Regions from separate parts of the Homo sapiens genome. Here regions 2, 3, 4 and 5 are each linked to region 1. Evidence: promoter capture Hi-C in 16 types of primary human blood cells and fetal thymus (Javierre and others, 2016). All regions are on one chromosome and are shown on one strand. The core of a region is centred on a gene start or on the middle of the fragment in contact, and the rest is flanking DNA. Distances in the headings are between cores, read along the strand shown.

Region 1 (3,512 bases), core at 672-3,171:
TGTATTTTGTGCTGACCTCCCATTTCATCCTGTGACTTAGAATGCCTTAACTGTCTGGGAATGCAGCCCAGTAGGTTTTAGGCTCATCTTACCCAGCTCCTGTTTAAGATGAAGGTGCTCTGGTTCACTTGCCTCTGACGATCCCAGCACTTTGCGAGGCCAAGGCGGGCAGTTCACTTGAGGTCAGGAGTTCGAGACCAGCCTGGCCAAAATGATGAAAACCCGTTTCTACTAAAAATACAAAAACTAGCTGGGCCTGTAATCCCAGCTGCTCTGGAGGCTGAGGCAGAATGGCTTGAACCTGGGAGGGGGAGGTCGCAGTGAGCCAAGATCACACCACTGCACTCCAGCCTGAGCAGCAGAGTGAGACTGTCTCCAAAAAAAAAAAAGGGCGGGGGGTGGAATTCCAAACACCCTCTTCCCCCAAGAAGTGATTGTATTAGGAAGTTAGGAGGTGGGGCCTTCGGGAGGTAATCAAGATTAGATGGTCATGAGGGTGGGGCCCTCACCCATGGAGATTATAAATGTCCTTAGCCGGCCTGTCTCACTTGTTCAGAAACCGGAAAAGTCCGTGGTCTGCAGTGTGGAAAAGGGCACCCGGACCTCTTACTTCCAGCCTCTAGTCTGGAAACTTTGTCTAAGGTACCCCATCTACATTACTTAGTCACAGCCACCCTGAACCCACTAGCCTGTACTGCGCTGGAGCATTTCGCATAAAATGAAATTAACATAAAAATGACACGTGCTCGTTGTGGAAAAAATACCAAAAAGATCACTTTTAATTCTGTCATCTAAAAATAACCACCAGTTACATTTATAAATTTCTTCCAGTAACTTTTTTATATGAACATGTTTTTAAACTTGGGTCAATATTAAAAGACCAGAAGTTGTTAAACATCATTTTAAATCCCCTTATCCAGGAATTAGCATTGTTATTCTTGGCCGCAGCAGAATATTATTTTATTCCCTCAAGCTTTCCATGGCTTGGGTCTGCCCTGGTTTTGAACATTAGGTTAGGCTACAGAAAGCATTCTGGGTCTCTGGCCCATTTGTTTCTTTCTTTGTGGAGACGGGGTCTGGCTCTGTTGCTCAGGCCTGTCTGGAACTCCTGGGCTCAAGCGACACTCCACCTCGGCCTCCCGAGTGGCTGGGACCACTGGCGCCCGCCGCCACCGCGCCGGCTCCGGGCCTCTCTCTACGCGTGGCTCCGCAGGCTCCATTCTCCACACAGTCGTCTAGGGGGGCGCCAGGAGCCCCGCGACGGGCCAGGCCGGAAGCTCAGCAAGTGCACCAGGCGGCGAAACGGCCGGCTGCGCAGGGCAGCCCCGGACACAGCCACGCCGCGGCCGCCCGGCGCTCCCCCGACCCAGCCGACCACGAAGCCGCCCTCCCCCTCACACCGCAGAACCTTTCTGCCTTTTACTACTTTTCAAAGTGGACCTAGGCTCCTGGCTCGAGCCTGAGGGGATACAAGGGATCACGAGGAGCGCCATCACCGTGCAAGGTCGACAGCTTCCGCTCAAAGCCCTGTGGCCCACGCTTCCGGCCTCGACCGACTACGTCATCACCAAACCCCGTGATACCTCACTCCACCTTCAGGTCCTCCGTCCCAACGGTTCCGTGTCCTGGAACTTTCCACGTTCCTGCGCACGCGCTCTGCGGCCCTTAACGTCCCGACTTCGCCCTCCTCTGGCCACGCCCCTGCCCGTTAAGGGCCCTGCCACCCCCGTGACGTACCTATCTTCCCTCGGGCAACCTCGCAACAGATCTCTGATTGGCTGACCCAGGAAGCGGACTTTGCGAGGCGGCGGCGACGATAGGCTGGCAGCCGGCCGACTTCCGCAGAAGGTGATTGGTCGGCGCTGCTGTCCAATCGGCGGCGGGCTGTCGGATTCAAATCCGGATCGTTGGGACTGCGGTCGTTAGTCTCCGGCGAGTTGTTGCCTGGGCTGGACGTGGTTTTGTCTGCTGCGCCCGCTCTTCGCGCTCTCGTTTCATTTTCTGCAGCGCGCCAGCAGGATGGCCCACAAGCAGATCTACTACTCGGACAAGTACTTCGACGAACACTACGAGTACCGGTGGGCGCCTTTCTTAGACCCCGAGCCGGCTCCCTCAGCCGGGGCCCCCGCGGGCGGGGCGACCCAGGCATAGTAGGGTCGGGGGTGGGGGCCGGGGCCTGGGGGGCGGAGCCCGGGGCCGGAGGGCGAGGGCCGGGGTTTGGGGTCGCGGCCACCTGGCGCCCCGCGCAGTCGGACATGGTTGGGTGCCTGGCCGCGCCGGGCCGGTTGGGCCTTTGTTCGGTGTGCGCGGAGGGTGAGGGAAGAGTGCCCACCGGGCCGCATTTAGTACCTGGGTAGGAACCGGCGCAACTTGGGGGTCATGGGGTCCTCGGCGACGCGGAGTGACCATCCCGTCACTTTTTTCTCGGCCGTGGCCGAAGTAATTAGGCCGTTCAGTAGCTGGTCTCAGTTCCAGTTCTTTGAACCAGTCCAGGAAAACCCACCTGGTGCCGTCCTTTTTCCTTTAGCAACCGTGACACACTTTCCCTGTCGCTGACGGGGTGATGCAGCTTTTACTAGTTTGTGGTTTAGAATGGTCAAATGGTCATTTTCATCTGTTAACACAGAGGAACACTTTTCTTTTTCTTGTTTTTGAAGTGAGTGGTATAAGAATAAGCTTTGGAGGCGACCCCCCGAAAAATGAGCTTGATGGGGATTCGAAAATGTTTACTGGGTATGGTGATTTGGGCCATTATAGGTTAGCCGCAGTCATACAATTGAGGGTATTATTAAAGGAGTTTCATTTTAAGGCCGATTAAGAACTTGAGTGGACTTTGGGCATCATTTTCTGCTAGTATACACTGGCCAAATTTTGGGCTTTGAGAAACTTTTGCGTTTGAGTCCTGAAGCACCGTACTAGAACATGGTGGCTGTAATCGATCAGTAAAATTAGACAAATTTTAAATGTCCCTGTCCCCTTCCCCCCAATTAAAGTAGATTGGGGGAAAGCGAGTAGGGACATTTAAAATTTGTTGTCCTTACTGTATGCGGGACACTTCATTTAGGGCGTGGCTTCAGAAAACAGTCAACCCCTTTTTCTTAACTAGGTAGCGACTAGAACGCTGCGTTCTGGGATACTACCAAGATTTAGGGGAGATAAAGCCCATGCCATCGTTGGCCAAATTGTGACCTTGTTTTCTGTCTGCTGCCTTTGTAGGTTAGATTTCTCCGAATGCTATTTAAGGAAGAAAGAACAAAACAGTGGGTGGTTTCTCTTTTTCTCCCCCTCCCTAGTAGCATGGAAGTCTGTTTTCACATGAGGACTACTGAATATTTCTATGGGTAGTAGTAATTGCACCCTTTTGTATTCCTAGCTAGAAAAATAGCATGTTTTTCTGGCTGTAGGTAAATTTCAAGTAGATTGTGTTAACCTTATAGTAATAATAAACTATACTCGTGTAATATGCTGGCAGTGTTCAATTATGCGATGTTAATCAAGAGCCCTATTGAGGA
Region 2 (3,512 bases), core at 302-2,801, 1.8 Mb after region 1:
CTTTGGGTTTTCACTTTCTGTAAGATACTTGTTTACATGTAAAAATTTTTTAAAAAATGTTTTTGAGACAGACTCTCACTCTTTGAGATGGAATCTCCCTCTATTGCCCAGGCTGGAGTGCAGTGGTGCAATCTTGGCTCAGTGCAACCTCCGCCTCCTGGGTTCAAGCGATTCACCTGCCTCAGCCTCCCAAGGAGTTGGGATTACAGGCATGTGCCACCACGCCTGGCTAATTTTGTATTATTATTATTATTTTTTTAAGTACAGACGAGGTTTCTCCATGTTGGTCAGGCTAGTCTCGAACTCCTGACCTCAGGTCATCTGCCCACCTTGGCCTCCCAAACTGCTGGGATTACAGGCATGAGCCACCATGCCTGGCTGACTCTCGCTCTTTTGCCCAGGCTTGGAGTGCAGTGGGTGCGATCTCAGCTCACTGCAACCTTCGCCTCCTGGCTTCAAGCGATTCTCCTACCTCAGGGCTTCAAGCGATTCTCCTGCCTCAGCCTGCTGAGTAGCTAGGATTACAGGTGTGCACCACCATGCCCAGCTAATTTTGTATTTTTAGTAGAGACGGGGTTTCGCCATGTTGGCCAGGTTGATCTCAAACTACTGGCCTCAAGTGATCTGCCTGCCTCAGTCTCCCAAAGTGCTGGGATTACAGGCATGAGCCACCATGCCCAGCCCAAAAATTAAGATATTAACATCAAATACAATTTGTATACTTTTTCTCCTGTTAATCTGTCCTTTGTTAGTTTAATTTGCAGGCCACAGTCACTAAACCTAAAAGGGCGGAAGAAACATTCTTTCTTCCCTGCTTTCCAACATTGTGTCTGGACTAAGCCTGAGACCCACTTTAGTCAACAGTGTATCAGGTGACTCTGTGCCTGTTCTGGGCCTAACTTGTAGAGCTTGGCAATGTTTGTTCTTGTGCTCTTGGGAGTCCTGAACCACCATGTAAGACAGGGGTTGGCAAACTATGGCCCATGGGCCAAATCCAGCCCACTGTCTATTTTTGTAAATAAAGCTTTATTGCAGCAGAGCAATGTCCATCTGTTTATGGGCATTTATGGCTACCTTTGCATTACAATGGTAGAGTTGAGTACTTGTGACATAGACTATATGGTCAAAGAGTCTAAAATATTTGGTCTTGTACTGAAAAGTTTGCTGACCCCTGATTTTAAAAGACCATCGACCTGCTGGAGAGACTACATGGAGAAGTCCTGAGGCCACAAGGAGAAAGAGAGAGGCTCAGCTGTCCATGTTCCATTTCCTAGTCCCAGGGCCAGGTGATTCAGCCCTATTACCAGTCATTGCCAATAGGAGAGACCCCAAAGGAGGTCAGCAGAAGAACCATCCTGCTGACCCCAGGCAATCTGAAGAACTGGAATAATAAAATGGTAGCTCTATGCTGCTGCATTTTGGATGGTTTATTACACAGCAGCAGATAATTGGAACCCACTCCCTCCCCACCTCCAAACAAAAATATTGGGCTGTGACTGTGAAGACGAACCAAAAACAAACAAACAAAAAAACAAGCACCATTGAAGATGAGTTACAAAACCATGACTGAATTAGTTCCCAAAGCTGTCTAATAGCACCACGTAACTGCTTGCAGAGTTTTTCTGAAGAAATACCATAACTCATCATGAAACCAGCTATTAAACCACAAAACTTCTGTTTCCTTCACCTTGTACGTCACCCCTACTCTCTGCAACAGTTTGACCGCATTTTAGTTTGTGGGTTTTTGCCTTTTAAATGAATCTTATCATTATGAACACTGAGTACCCAAATAGTCCCCCAGGGCAGGAACTTCTCGTCTCTCTGAACACAGAATGTCCACTTGTGTGTTCTTTCAGATGCAGGGTCTTCTTGCCCTGAATTTCTAGAATGTGTTCTTAAAGAAACATACCTATTATTTCAAAGTATCTCAATTTTTTGAGAGACAAGGAGCACTATGAATCCAGCTCATGGTGTTAATGGCTTTCTCATCATAAATCCATCAGCTATATTAGTTCTTTAGAGAAAGTAAAAATCAGAACAAGGTCTATTTGTCATATTTCCTTAACCACATCTGGAGAGAAGCTTCAAGTGAGTAAATCCAACATATGATTGTGATTCTGGGAGCATCGTTGTTTCTGTTTTCATGAAGTTTTCTCTAAGGAATGAGTTAAGGAATGAGTTAGTTCTTTTGGGGAAAAAAAAATAGTGTGCCTCCCCCCCACTGCCCACCATCTGCACACCCACTCTCGGAAATGTTGCCTGCCCATATTTACCTGCTCACCAAGCTGTTCCCTATTCTAGAAGTTTCCACTCTCCCTTGAGTATAAAAGCTTCAACCCTGGTTCAGTGGGTGGTAGCTGCACCATGGTCTGGGGAAATCAGCACTTTTTCGTGGGTGTTGCTGCCCAGGGACCAAAGGGGACTTGAGGATAATCAAGCCAGCTCTGCAAGTCTCCAACCACACAAGGGGACTGAGCTCCCACCACATCCCTCAACCTCCCGCCGCCATCTTGCTTTCCCACTCCCTGCCTCCCACACAGCTCAGCTGCCTTTTGCTGCCCTTTGCTGCCCTTTACTGCCCCTTGCACTCCCCAGCAAACCTCCTCCATCCTCTCCACTGCGTCTCCTCCCTCCCTTCCTCCCCTCTGTCACCCCAATGGCCCAGGGAGAGCACAGGACAACATGGAGTGAGGAAAGGGAGGAGCTCAGCCAGCTAACCATCCCTGCCCACCACATGTGAATTAGACAGGCTTCTCCAGAGACAGAGCCAACAGGGTATGTACACAGGAAGAAATTTATCTGAGGAATTGGCTCACACAGTTATGGAGGCTGACAAGCCCTGAGATCTGCCATCTGCAAACTGGAGACCCAAGAAAGCCAGTGTTACAATTCACTCCTGTTCCAACAGCCTGAGAACCAGGGGAACAGATGATGTAAATCCCAATCCCAGGGCAGAAGAAGAAGAAATGAGATGTCCCAGCTCAAGCATGGAGGAAAGGGGGGAAGAGAGCAAATTCCTCTGTTCTCTGTCTTTTGTTTTGTGCAGACCCTCAAGGGGTTGGATGAGGCCCACCTACATTGAGAAGGGCATCCGCTTCACTAAGTCTTCTGGTTCAAATGCTAATCCCATCAGAAAACTGTCACAGACACACCCAAATAATGTTTAATCTGAGCACCTACGGTCCACTCAAATTGACTCATAAAATAAGTCATCACATGGGTGAAAGCCTTCCCTGGATGGTGAGTTTTCTGTCTCCCCAACGTGCATGCATGAAGAGCTGTCTGGGTAGATCTGATTCCCATCTTTTACCTACAAACATTTACCCACAACCTTGCCCAAATAACACTGAGCTCCAGGCTGTATGTGTATTATTTCTCATCTTTACAATGGCCCAGAGAGGAGTTCCTGAGTCCTGGAGGGAACTGAGGTAAAAGTGTAACCACTTGATGGGTTCTTCCTGCCCACTGCACGAAATCCATCCACTGAGACCAGGGCATTGCAACAGAGAAAG
Region 3 (3,512 bases), core at 760-3,259, 1.5 Mb after region 1:
AAAATAAAAATATAATTTATCAAAAATTTTGGAATGTAGCAAAAGCAGTGCTTATAGAGAAATTTATAGAACTAAGTGCACACATTAGGTAAAAAATATATAAAGAAAATTACTTGTGATTCTACTTTTAAGAAACTACAGAAAGAAGAGCAAATTAGGCCTAAACCAAGCAAAAGAAAAGAAATAATTAAAATGAAAGCAGAAATCATTGAAATTAAAAACAGGAAAACAGTAGAGAAAAGTCAATAAAACCAATGTTGGTTCTTTGAAATCATCAACCAAATTGATAAACCTTTAACCAAGAAAAAAAAAAGAAAAAAATGTAGAAGATGCAATTTACCAATATCAGAAATGAAGGAAAGGTCATAACTGTTGATCTAATGGATATAAAAAGATGATAAAGGAAGATCATGAACAACTCTGTACTCACAAATGTGGTAACTTAGGTGAAATAAACTAATGCTTGAGTGACACAAACTACTAAAACTTACAGAAGAAATAGGTAGCCTGAATAGCCCTATATCTTTAAAATTTAAATTAATATAACCTTTAAAACAGAAATCATCAGGCCCAGATGGGTCCACTAGTGAATTCTGTCAAACACTTAAGAAAGAAAGAATACCAGTTTTCCATAATCTCTTCCAGAAAATAGAAATGGAGGAAACAGTTTCTAATTCATTTTATGAGTTCAGATTTCACGTAATACCAAAACCAGTTAAGGCATTACAAGAAAACAAAGCAATATTACTTATATATACAAAAACCCTCAACAAAATGTTAGAAAATCAAACCCAACAACGTATGAAAAGAGCTATGTACCACAGCCAAGTGGAATTTATTCCAGGTATGCAAAACAGGTTCAACATTTGAAAATAAATTAATGTGATACATCACATCAATGGGCTAGAGAAGAAAAATCATATGACCATGTTAATGGAGGCAGAAAGGGCATTTGACAAACTCAAAACACTCTTTCATGTCAAAAAAAAAATCTTAAACTAGGAATAGAGGAAAACTTTTGTAACTTGATAAAGAGCATTAAAAAAAAAAACCTACAGGTAACATCATACTTAATGGTGAGAGACTGAACACTGTCCCTCTGATACTGAAAACAAGGTAAGACTGTCCTCTCTTACCACTCTGTTCAACATCCTACTGGGAGCCCTAGCTAGTGCAAGAAAACAAAACAAAACTTATACAGATCAGAAAAGAAGAAATAAGACATCTTTTTTCACAGATAATATGCATGTCCATATGGAGAACTTCAAAGAATCCATAAAACAACTCTAATAACCAATAAGTGAGTCTACAGGATGCTAGATCAATATACAAAAGTCGGTTGCTTTCCTATATACCAGTAGTTAACTATTGAAATTTGAAATAAGAATAATTACCATGTATAATAGCACCAAAAAGACAAAAAAAAAAAAACACAAGAAAATACTTAGGTATAAATCTAACAAAATATGTACAGGATCTGTATGCAGAAAACTACAAAATAATGATGGAAGAATCAAAGAAGATGTAAGTAAATGGAAAAGTAGTCCATGTTCGTACATTGGAAGACTCAATGTTGTTAAAATGTTCATTCTGCCAAGCTTGATCTGTAGATTCAACCCAATCCCAATCAAAATCCCAGCAAGCTGTTTTGTAGCTAATGATGAAATGATTCTGAACTTTACTTGGGAAGGTAAAAGATCTAGAATACCCAACACAATACCCACTAAAAAGGACAAAGTTGGAGGACTCACACTACTCAATTTCAAGTCTTACTAGAAACAGATACAATTTCTGCCCTTATGGGACAAACAGACATTCATCAAAAATTCACATGCTAGAAAGTAAAGGTAAATTAAGTCAAAACAGTGGTCAGTGGTACAAAAGGAAAGCATGTTAGTTTTGACTGTGGGGACAGGGACATGTTTATCCTGAGCTCAAAGGGTAGCCTGGACAGTGGAGGATTTTTAGCAGAGAAAAGGGCCACAGCTTAGAACATGTAGGAAGGGAGCAAGGTGGGGGCACTGACAGCCAGAGCTACTCAAAAGAGATGTGGAGGAAAAGGATGTTATGTGGTTTTGGAGACAAGTAGGCATGTGTGGGAGGCTGAGACGTGAGATGGGAGGGATTGGCAAGGGGTTGACTTTCAGCAGTGTAGAGAAGGGAATGATCTAAGAGAGCTTGGATTTTCATCTTCATAAATGGATGGAGCTCTTGGGCCAAGGTTCTCAAACTTGAGCCTTTAAAATACAAAACCTAGAGCTTCACCCCAGAGTTTCTGATTTGGCAGGTCAGGGTGGAACCCTAAGAATTTTCATATCCTCCATGTTTCCTGGTGATGCTGACATTGCTGGTCCAGAGACGCACATTGAGAACCCAGCTCCAGGGAACAAGAAGGAGCTCCAAGTTAGGCAGGAAAGCCCCAAGCTTACATTTGGATGGGTTGACTATGAGGGCCTTTGCACTGCCACCTGAAGATGGTAGCTAAGAGAAGAGGCAGGCTTCAAATATTGGCTCCACCACATACTGTGTGTTCTTCAGCAAGCCAGTTGACCCTCCTGAGGCTCGATGACCAGGTCTGTGAATTGAGGATAACAATAGTATCTACCATTAGGGATGTTGTGCACATCAGTTGATAACCTTTGAGTCAAGTACTCATGGAATAGCTGTTTTGCATTATCCTCATCACCTTCATCATCATGGCCATTCTGGCCAGCACTAAAGATGTACAGCCAACCTCTTCTGTGGCTGAAGTTTATCTTCTATAAAATGAGAACTTGTTTTTCATGAAGCTGTCATTTTCACAAGTTTGGGGTGCAGGTGCAGATTGCCTACTGTTGTGTTTCTGAACACTTCCCTCGCGAGGCTCCTAACCCCACCCCAGTAAACTCATCAACATGACTCCTTCCAGCTTCTACAGCTCTGGAGAGGGTTCCTTTTTATCTTGCGTTTCCAGGGATGTTTCACGGCCTTTTGTGGAGTGGGCCCTGGCTGAGCTTCTGGCCCTTCTTGAGTGTGGAGGATGTCACAGACTGCAGTGGGAAATTAAAAAGCTGCTTGCTTCACAGAGTAAGGGAATGTTAGTAGATGCTTGAAAAGTACCCTGAGGGAGCTGGTCAGAGGTGCTCTGTAAAGTTGCATCTGTTGCTAGCACCATGAGCAGCTGTCTGACCAGGAGGCCTGGGAACAGGGACAGAGAGAGCTGGCACCCTTCTTTCCTCTGCCCTACACATTGGCCTTTCCGCCATTAAGACCATCTCTGCTTGACTTTTTCAGTCTCCTGGCTGGCAATTAGCATCTTGAGGTCTCCATTAAGATCTTTTCAAGGATGCTCTTCCTATTTGGTTCAATCTTCTGGTTGAATTTGATACATGTTATGATGTAGGACTTTTTAAAAAAACATAAAACAATCAGGAAAACCTCGCTATACCCATTCCAGCAATTCAAGACCAAGTTCATTTTTGGTAAAAACACTTGGGAAAGGGCATTTCCAGGCTGGCTAAGCACTAAATGGC
Region 4 (3,512 bases), core at 352-2,851, 1.5 Mb after region 1:
GACGTGTCCACCCTACTGTTGTGTCCAGTTTCCATTGGCTGGAACAAGAGCTCGCATTCTGTATTTGTCCTGATTGGCTAGCAACTTAGAACTTTTTAAAAGAGGCAAAGGTAGAGGGGAACAAAGGAAGGAGGAAGTAACTAGTGGAAGGCTGAGAAAGGTAAAAACACTTTTAAATAAGGAAGAGGAACAGGCTATGACCTAATGCTTGCTTGGACCAGTATAAGCATGCCAGGGCAAATATTTAGGCTAAATTGTGGGAGCTAGGAACATAAATTGTATATTGATTTTTTTATTATGGCTAGCAGATATTTAAGAATGTTAGCACAGGTCTTTGAATAAATTTTGCTTCTAAGAGAAGTTACTATTTATTCCTAATTAGACGGGGAGGAAAGTCTTTGAAGAGGAACCTCTACTTTACTTTTTACAGTTGGCCATAGAGACTCTTTTCAAGTTGACTTTGCTGGAGCTTCACCTAATAATGTTATTCTAGTCAAAGCCTTGGTATAATAACCAGCACCTGCAATTGTGTCCTGTTTCAAAAGAAAGGGCTCTTATTAAACATGCCTTTACATATCACATATTTATCAGTTTACTGTTGATTGCCTATCTGCCTGCTAAACTGTTTGCTTCTGCAAAATAGAGACCTTGCCTGTCCTGCACCCCCAGAGCTTAGGCCTGCATAATGCTCAGTAGACATTGCATATATAATAGATGTTGGAAGAAGATGCAGTTGGCAGAGAGATGTAAGGACAATTTCTCATTGTTTTGTCAACATAAAGTATGTATGTTTTATATTGGAAAGCTGAGATCTTGAAAAAACTGTATACAAAAATTTTTGCAGGTATGTCTCTGTTTCTCCATATTGAGCTTCCACTTTTGATGATTGTAGAAATGTGCTGTAGAATGGATTAGACCATGTTTTTTTGTTTGTTTGTTTGTTTGTTTTGAGATGGAGTTTCGCTCTTGTTGCCCAGGCTAGCGTGCAATGGCACAGTCTCCACTCACCACAACCTCCACCTCCTGGGTTCAAGCGATTCTCCTGCCTCAGCCTCCCGAGTAGCTGGGATTACAGATATGTACCACCACACCCGGCTAATTTTGTATTTTTAGTAGAGACGAGATTTCTCTATGTTGGTCAGGCTGGTCTCAAACTCTTGACCTCAGGTGATCTGCCCACCTCAGCCTCCCAAAGTGCTGAGATTACAGGTGTGAGCCACTGCACCCAGCCAATTACACAGTGTTTTAAAGACAAATAAATATGTGAATTTTGTATTAAAGTTCAGCTGCTCTTCACCTAAGAAATATTCATCAAGTAAGAAGTATCTGGCTTGGGTAATTGTTAACTAAAGAATCATGAGATTCATAAATTTGGAGAGGAGAGTGTTATTTCTTATAAAGGCTTGCATCCAGCAGGCTGCCCACTGTGCAGGCTGGGAAGCATAGCTTCTGGTAGAAACCAAAAGCAGGCACTTTGAAAGAGGGAAAGGTGAGACAGAAATTTGGGCTGAATGGGCTAGCTAAGTATACATATTCAATAGTTATAGGAAGGGCTGAGAATAATTATGAAGGGGGTGCACACATTCATAGCAAGCAAACATCCATGTTACATTCATCTCATATTCATTTGGGGTGAAGACTTACATTTAATTGCATTATAATTTCACTCTGTATGTCACAAAGTGAAAGCAAGGACACAGGGGCATGTTGTCTGCAGCCTGTGAATACCTGCCAGAGCCAGTCTACGGCCAGTGGTCTTTTATCAGGAAGGAATGCCAGTCAGTTGTTGTGTAAATCAGAGGTGAAGCGAGTCTTTCAAAAGAGCTGGTTTCTGTCTGTTAGAGAAGGAAGATTGATGGCAGTAAGGGAGGTGGCATAACAAGGCGTGTCCCACCTCCTGTGTGCCTGGCATGGCTGGCAACTCAGTTTTTAAGGCTTCTCTGAGGCTCCTTGGACAAAGAGGGAGTCCATTCAGTTAGTTAGGGGACTTAGAATTTTATTTTTATTTCTCAGAATTTATCTAGGAAAGTTAGATGGTAGATCGTAAAGGTGCAGAATGTCATGTTAATTTGGCTTGCTATCGAGATGTATCAGAGTACAACAATAACAGTGTTATCAGCTGTATACTAAAAACATCCTTGGTCAGCAATATCTCAGACATTTTCCAAGGACAAAAGTATTAAATTTCATAAAGAAATAGCACGCTTTCAAATAACACTCCCAGGGCTTGACACGTGTATAAGAAAATCTAATTCCCAGGCACATTTCCCAGTAAGGCCATGAAAATAGCCGCGGAATGTGAAATATACACGTGACTGCCATCCTAATTTGGATGTTTCTTTAACACCCACAAGAAGGATGATAACTTCTCTCCCCCTAGCTCCTATTACGCCACTCCAATATGCACCCTGGACCTCAAAGATCATTTCTCTTTCCTGCATCCAGATAAAAGGTCACGATTCCTGGTGCCTGGTGTGCTCTGGACCACAGTGTATTTCCCAAGGTAGTCACGACCCCTTTAATGGACCACAGTGTATTTCCCAAGGTAGTCACGACCCCTTTAATGGCAGACTCTGCCTGCAGACTGCTGGTGCTGAGAGGGTGCTGGTGCTTGTGCACATAGCAAGAAGTGAAATAGAAATGACTGAGTTTGTTTTGTGCAGCATCACCACTGTTCTCGTAAAGAATGAACTATATAAGCACATAAGAACTACAAAGTGCAAATTGTGTAATTTTGGTGATTCCGCATACGAGTCCAATGTTTTTATGTTTACATTTAAAACTGGCATAACAAATTCTATGTAAAGATAAATGGTAAAGTCCGTATTAATAATTTATAATTTCTATTTTTATTTAGTTAGAATGACATTCAATAGCAAATTTAAAAAAACACTGACATCTTGAAAGAGACAACAGAAGAGAAAAAAGGTTTTATATTTTAATACCTTTAATGGCCATTTTATTTTGCTTTTTGAACCAGGATCCATTTTTTATTTTGTACTGGGCCCCACAGATTATGAAGTTGGCCCTAGGCACAACCTCACACCACTACCTGTTCTGGTTAGCTATTACTAGGTAAGCTATGTAACATATTACCCCAAAACCTGGTGCCTTGAAACAACAATCATTCTTAAATATCTCACGATTTTGTGACTCAGAAGCTCAGGCGGAGCTCAGCTAGGTGATTCTTCTGCTTCACATGGCATTAACTAGGCACTCAGCTGGCTTTCAGGCTGTTAACACAGCCTTGGCAAAGATTGGGGAAGACTGGGCTCAGCTTTGCACCTCCAACTCTGCCCCACCCTTTGGCCTCTCCAGCAATCTTTGGAGTTCTTACATGGCAGTTCAGGGTTCCAAGAGACCAAGACCTAAGCTGTCCATCCTCTAAAAGGCTAGGCTTAAAATAAAAATGCCGTCACTTCTGCCACACTCTCTTGGTCAAAGCAGTAATAGGGCAGCCCAGATGCAAGAGGGAGAGTCTATTACACATCAGGAAACCAAGGCCCAGAGAG
Region 5 (3,512 bases), core at 439-2,938, 1.3 Mb before region 1:
GACTTTTTTCTTTTTTTTCTTTTTTTTTTTTTTTTTGCCAAATCAATAACTGCATAATGACTTTTACATGACTAAATTTTACTTATCTTCCCACACATAAGACTGTCGTACAATTATCAAATGCTTTATGAAGCACCATTTTGTGCATAACATCACAGCACAAAGACTAGTATGATTATGGTAATGGGAGTTATTTCACTATTCTCTTCAAGAAATGGTAAAAGGAGACGATAATCTCAATTGATGCAGAAAAAGCATTTGACAAAATTCAACACTCTTTAATGAAGAAAGCACTCAACAAACTATAAATACAAGAAAACCACCTCAACATAATACAGGCCATGCAGGAAAAGCCCACAGTTAACATTACATTCAATGGTGAAAGATTGAAAGCTTTCCCTCTAAGATCAAGAACAAGTCAAGGATCCTCACTTTTGCCGCTTTTATTTTATATAATACTGGAAGTCCTAGCCAAAGCAATTAGAAAAATAAATAAATAAATACATAAATAGGCCGGGCACAGCGGCTCATGCCTGTAATCCCAGCACTTTGGGAGGCTGAGGCAGGTGGATTACCTGAGGTCAGGAGTTCAAGACCAGCCTGGCCAACATGGCGAAACCCCATTTCTACTGAAAATACAAAAATTAGCCGGGCATGGTGGCACGCACCTGTAGTCCCAGCTACTTGGGAGGCTGAGGCAAGAGAATCGCTTGAACCCGGGAGGCGGAGGTTGCAGTGAGCCGAGATCGCACCACTGCACTCCAGCCTGGGTGACAGAGTGAGACTCCGTCTAATAAATAAATAAATGAATGTAGGTAAATAAATAAATAGCATCCAAATTGGAAAGAAAAAACTATCTCTGTCTAGAGACAACATGATAATATATGTAGAAAATCCTAAATATGCCACAAAAAACTGTTAAAACTAATAAACAAGATAAACAGAGTAGCAAGATTCAAAATCAATATGCAAAAATCAATAGTTTCTATATACTAACAATGAGCACTCTGAAACAGAAATTAAGAAAATAATTCCATTTACAATAATATCAAAAAGAATAAAATACTTAGGAGTAAATAAGGAAGCAAAAGACTCATAGGTTGAAAACTAAAAAATGTTGCTGAAAGAAAGACACAAATAAATAGACATCTTGTGTTCATGGACTGAAGGACTTAATATTTTGAATATGTCAATACTACTGAAAACAATTTAAAGGTTTAATGGAATCTCCATGGGATTTCTTTTTTGCAGAATTAGAAAAAAAAATTATTCAGAAACCAATGTGGATTCTCAAGAGGCCCTAAATAGCCAAAACCAATCTTAAAAAAGGAGGAGGTCTTACTCGTCCAGATTTTAAAGCTTACCACAAGCTATAGTAATCAAAAAAGTGTGGTACTGACATAAAGGCAGACAGCCCAATGGAATAGAATGGAGAGCCTAGAAGTAAATCTTCACATACCTGATCAAATGATTTTTAAAAAAATTATGAAGACCATTCAATGGGGAAAGGACAGTCTCTTTAACTAATGATGGTGAGAAAGCTAGAGCTCTACATGCAAGAAAATGAAAAAATTGACCCCTTATATCATATGGAAAAACTAACTCAAAATGGATTAAAGACCCAAATTTACACCAGGTGCACTGGCTTACACCTGTAATCTCAGCACTTTGGGAGGCTGAGGCAGGATCACTTGAGGCCAAGGCCCGCGGATCACTTGAGGTCAGGAGTTCGAGACCAGCCTGGCCAACATGGTGAAACCCTGTCTCTACTGAAAATACAAAAAAATGAGCTGGGCATTGGGGCATATGCCTGTAATCCCAGCTACTCAGGAGGCTGAGGCAGGAGAATCACTTGAAACCAGGAGGTGGAGGTTGCAGTGAGCTGAGGTCACGCCACTGAACTCCAGCGTGGGCAACAGAGGGAGGCTCTGTTTCAAAAAAAAAAAAAAAAAAGAAAACCTAAATGAAAGAGCTAAAACTATAAAACTCTTAGAGGAGAACATAAGGACATAAGGGAAAAGCTTCATAATATTGGGTTTGACAGTGACTTCTTTTTTTTTTTTTAAGACACAGTCTCACTCTGTTGCCAGGCTGGAGTACAATGGCATGATCTCGGCTCACTGCAACCTCTGCCTCCCAGATTCAAGCAATTCTCCTGTATCAGCCTCCCAAGTACCTGGGACTACAGGCGCATGCCACCACGCCCAACTAATTTTTGTATTTTTAGTAGAGACAGGGTTTCACCATGTTGGCCAGGATGGTCTCGATCTCTTGACCTCATGATTTGCCTGCCTCGGCCTCCCAACGTGCTGGGATTACAGGCATGAGCCACCGCACCTGGCCTGACAGTGACTTCTTCATGTAACACTAAAAACATAGGCAACAAATGTAATAATAGCCAGGGTAATTAGGCAAGAGAAAGAAAGGGTATCAAAATTGGAAAGCAGAAAGTCAAATTGTCCCTATTTGCAGATGGCATGATCTTATATATGGAAAAACCTAAAGGTTCTACCAAAAAACTCTTAGAACTGATACATTTAGTTAAGTTTTAGGATACAAAATCAACATATAAGTATCAGTAGTGTTCCTATATTTGAACAATAAACTAGCTGAAAAAGAAAGGCAATCACATTTACAATAGCTACAAAAAATAAAAAATAATAAAATACCTAGGTATAAATCCAACCAGGGAGGTGAAAGACCTCCACAAGGAAACTAAAAAACAGTGATAAAAGAAATGGAAGAGTATACAAATAAATGGAAAGACATCCCATGCTCATGGAGTACAAGAATTAATATTGTTAAAATGACCATACTGTGCCGGGCATGGTGGCTCACACCTGTAATCCCAGCACTTTGGGAGGCCGAAGCAGGTGGATCATCTGAGGTCAGGAGTTTGAGACCAGCCTGGCCAACATGCGAAACCCTGTCTCTACTAAAAATACAGAAAATAGCCGGGCACGGTGGCAGGCAGCTCTAATCCCAGCTACTCGGGAGGCTGAGGCAGGAGAATAGCTTGAACCAGGGAGGCAGAGGTTGCAGTGAGCCGAGATTGCACCATTGCACTCCAGCCTGGGTGACAGAGTGAGACTCTGTCTCAAAAAAAAAAAAAAAAAAAAAAAAAAAAATGACCATACTACCCAAAGCAATCTACAGATTCAATGCAATCCCTATCAAAATGCCAATGACATTCTTCACAGAAATAGAAAAAAAGATTTAAAAACAATGTGGAGACACAAAAGATTCTGAATAGCCAAAGCAATCCTATGCAAAAAGAACGAAACTGAAGGCATCACACTACCTGACTTCAAAATCTACTACAAAGTTGTAGTAACACAAACTGCATAGTACTGACCTTAAAACAGACACGTGGGCCAATGGAACAGAATAGAGAACCCAGAAATTAATCCACATATATATAGCAAACTGATTGTTGACAAAGGCACCAAGAACACTTACTGAGGAAAAGACAATGTCTTCAACAAATAGTGCTGGGAAAATTGGATATCCAT

Evidence for each region. The method cuts DNA at HindIII sites, captures the fragments that hold promoters and counts their contacts. A CHiCAGO score of 5 or more calls a contact.
Region 2: a contact is called between a fragment that was not itself captured here and the fragment with the promoter of CKS2 in region 1, in 1 of 17 cell types (naive CD8 T cells). The highest score is 8.2, in naive CD8 T cells.
Region 3: a contact is called between a fragment that was not itself captured here and the fragment with the promoter of CKS2 in region 1, in 4 of 17 cell types (total B cells, naive B cells, megakaryocytes and 1 more). The highest score is 10.8, in total B cells.
Region 4: a contact is called between a fragment that was not itself captured here and the fragment with the promoter of CKS2 in region 1, in 2 of 17 cell types (neutrophils and total B cells). The highest score is 6.1, in neutrophils.
Region 5: a fragment that was not itself captured here is called in contact with the fragment with the promoter of CKS2 in region 1 in 1 of 17 cell types (monocytes); the score reaches 8.4 in monocytes.

What each region holds. Positions count from the first base shown.
Region 1 is chr9:89,309,274-89,312,785 of GRCh38, forward strand. CKS2 (CDC28 protein kinase regulatory subunit 2) reads left to right here and starts at 1,922. Exons shown (of 3, transcript NM_001827.3): 1 at 1,922-2,078. The coding sequence starts at 2,020. MIR3153 (microRNA 3153) reads left to right here and starts at 2,952; the gene lies at 2,952-3,033. It overlaps LOC105376136 (a long non-coding RNA gene), which reads right to left and starts at 1,529. Exons shown (of 3, transcript XR_930101.4): 1 at 93-1,529. RefSeq lists a silencer at 1,228-1,457 and enhancers at 1,468-1,757, 2,428-2,477. The HindIII fragment of the contact is 1,703 bases long and covers 972-2,674 here.
Region 2 is chr9:91,149,485-91,152,996 of GRCh38, forward strand. The region is part of intron 1 of LINC02937 (long intergenic non-protein coding RNA 2937); the gene reads right to left. All of the region lies in intron 2 of LINC00484 (long intergenic non-protein coding RNA 484), which reads left to right. Among named protein-coding and RNA genes, the nearest start is that of LINC02937, 12 kb to the right of the region's middle. The HindIII fragment of the contact is 1,058 bases long and covers 1,023-2,080 here.
Region 3 is chr9:90,823,702-90,827,213 of GRCh38, forward strand. All of the region lies in intron 1 of SYK (spleen associated tyrosine kinase), which reads left to right. Among named protein-coding and RNA genes, the nearest start is that of SYK, 24 kb to the left of the region's middle. The HindIII fragment of the contact is 826 bases long and covers 1,597-2,422 here.
Region 4 is chr9:90,781,952-90,785,463 of GRCh38, forward strand. No RefSeq gene overlaps it. Among named protein-coding and RNA genes, the nearest start is that of SYK, 18 kb to the right of the region's middle. The HindIII fragment of the contact is 5,045 bases long and covers 1-3,512 here.
Region 5 is chr9:87,977,782-87,981,293 of GRCh38, forward strand. The region is part of intron 1 of LOC105376131 (a long non-coding RNA gene); the gene reads left to right. Among named protein-coding and RNA genes, the nearest start is that of CDK20, 5.0 kb to the left of the region's middle. The HindIII fragment of the contact is 662 bases long and covers 1,358-2,019 here.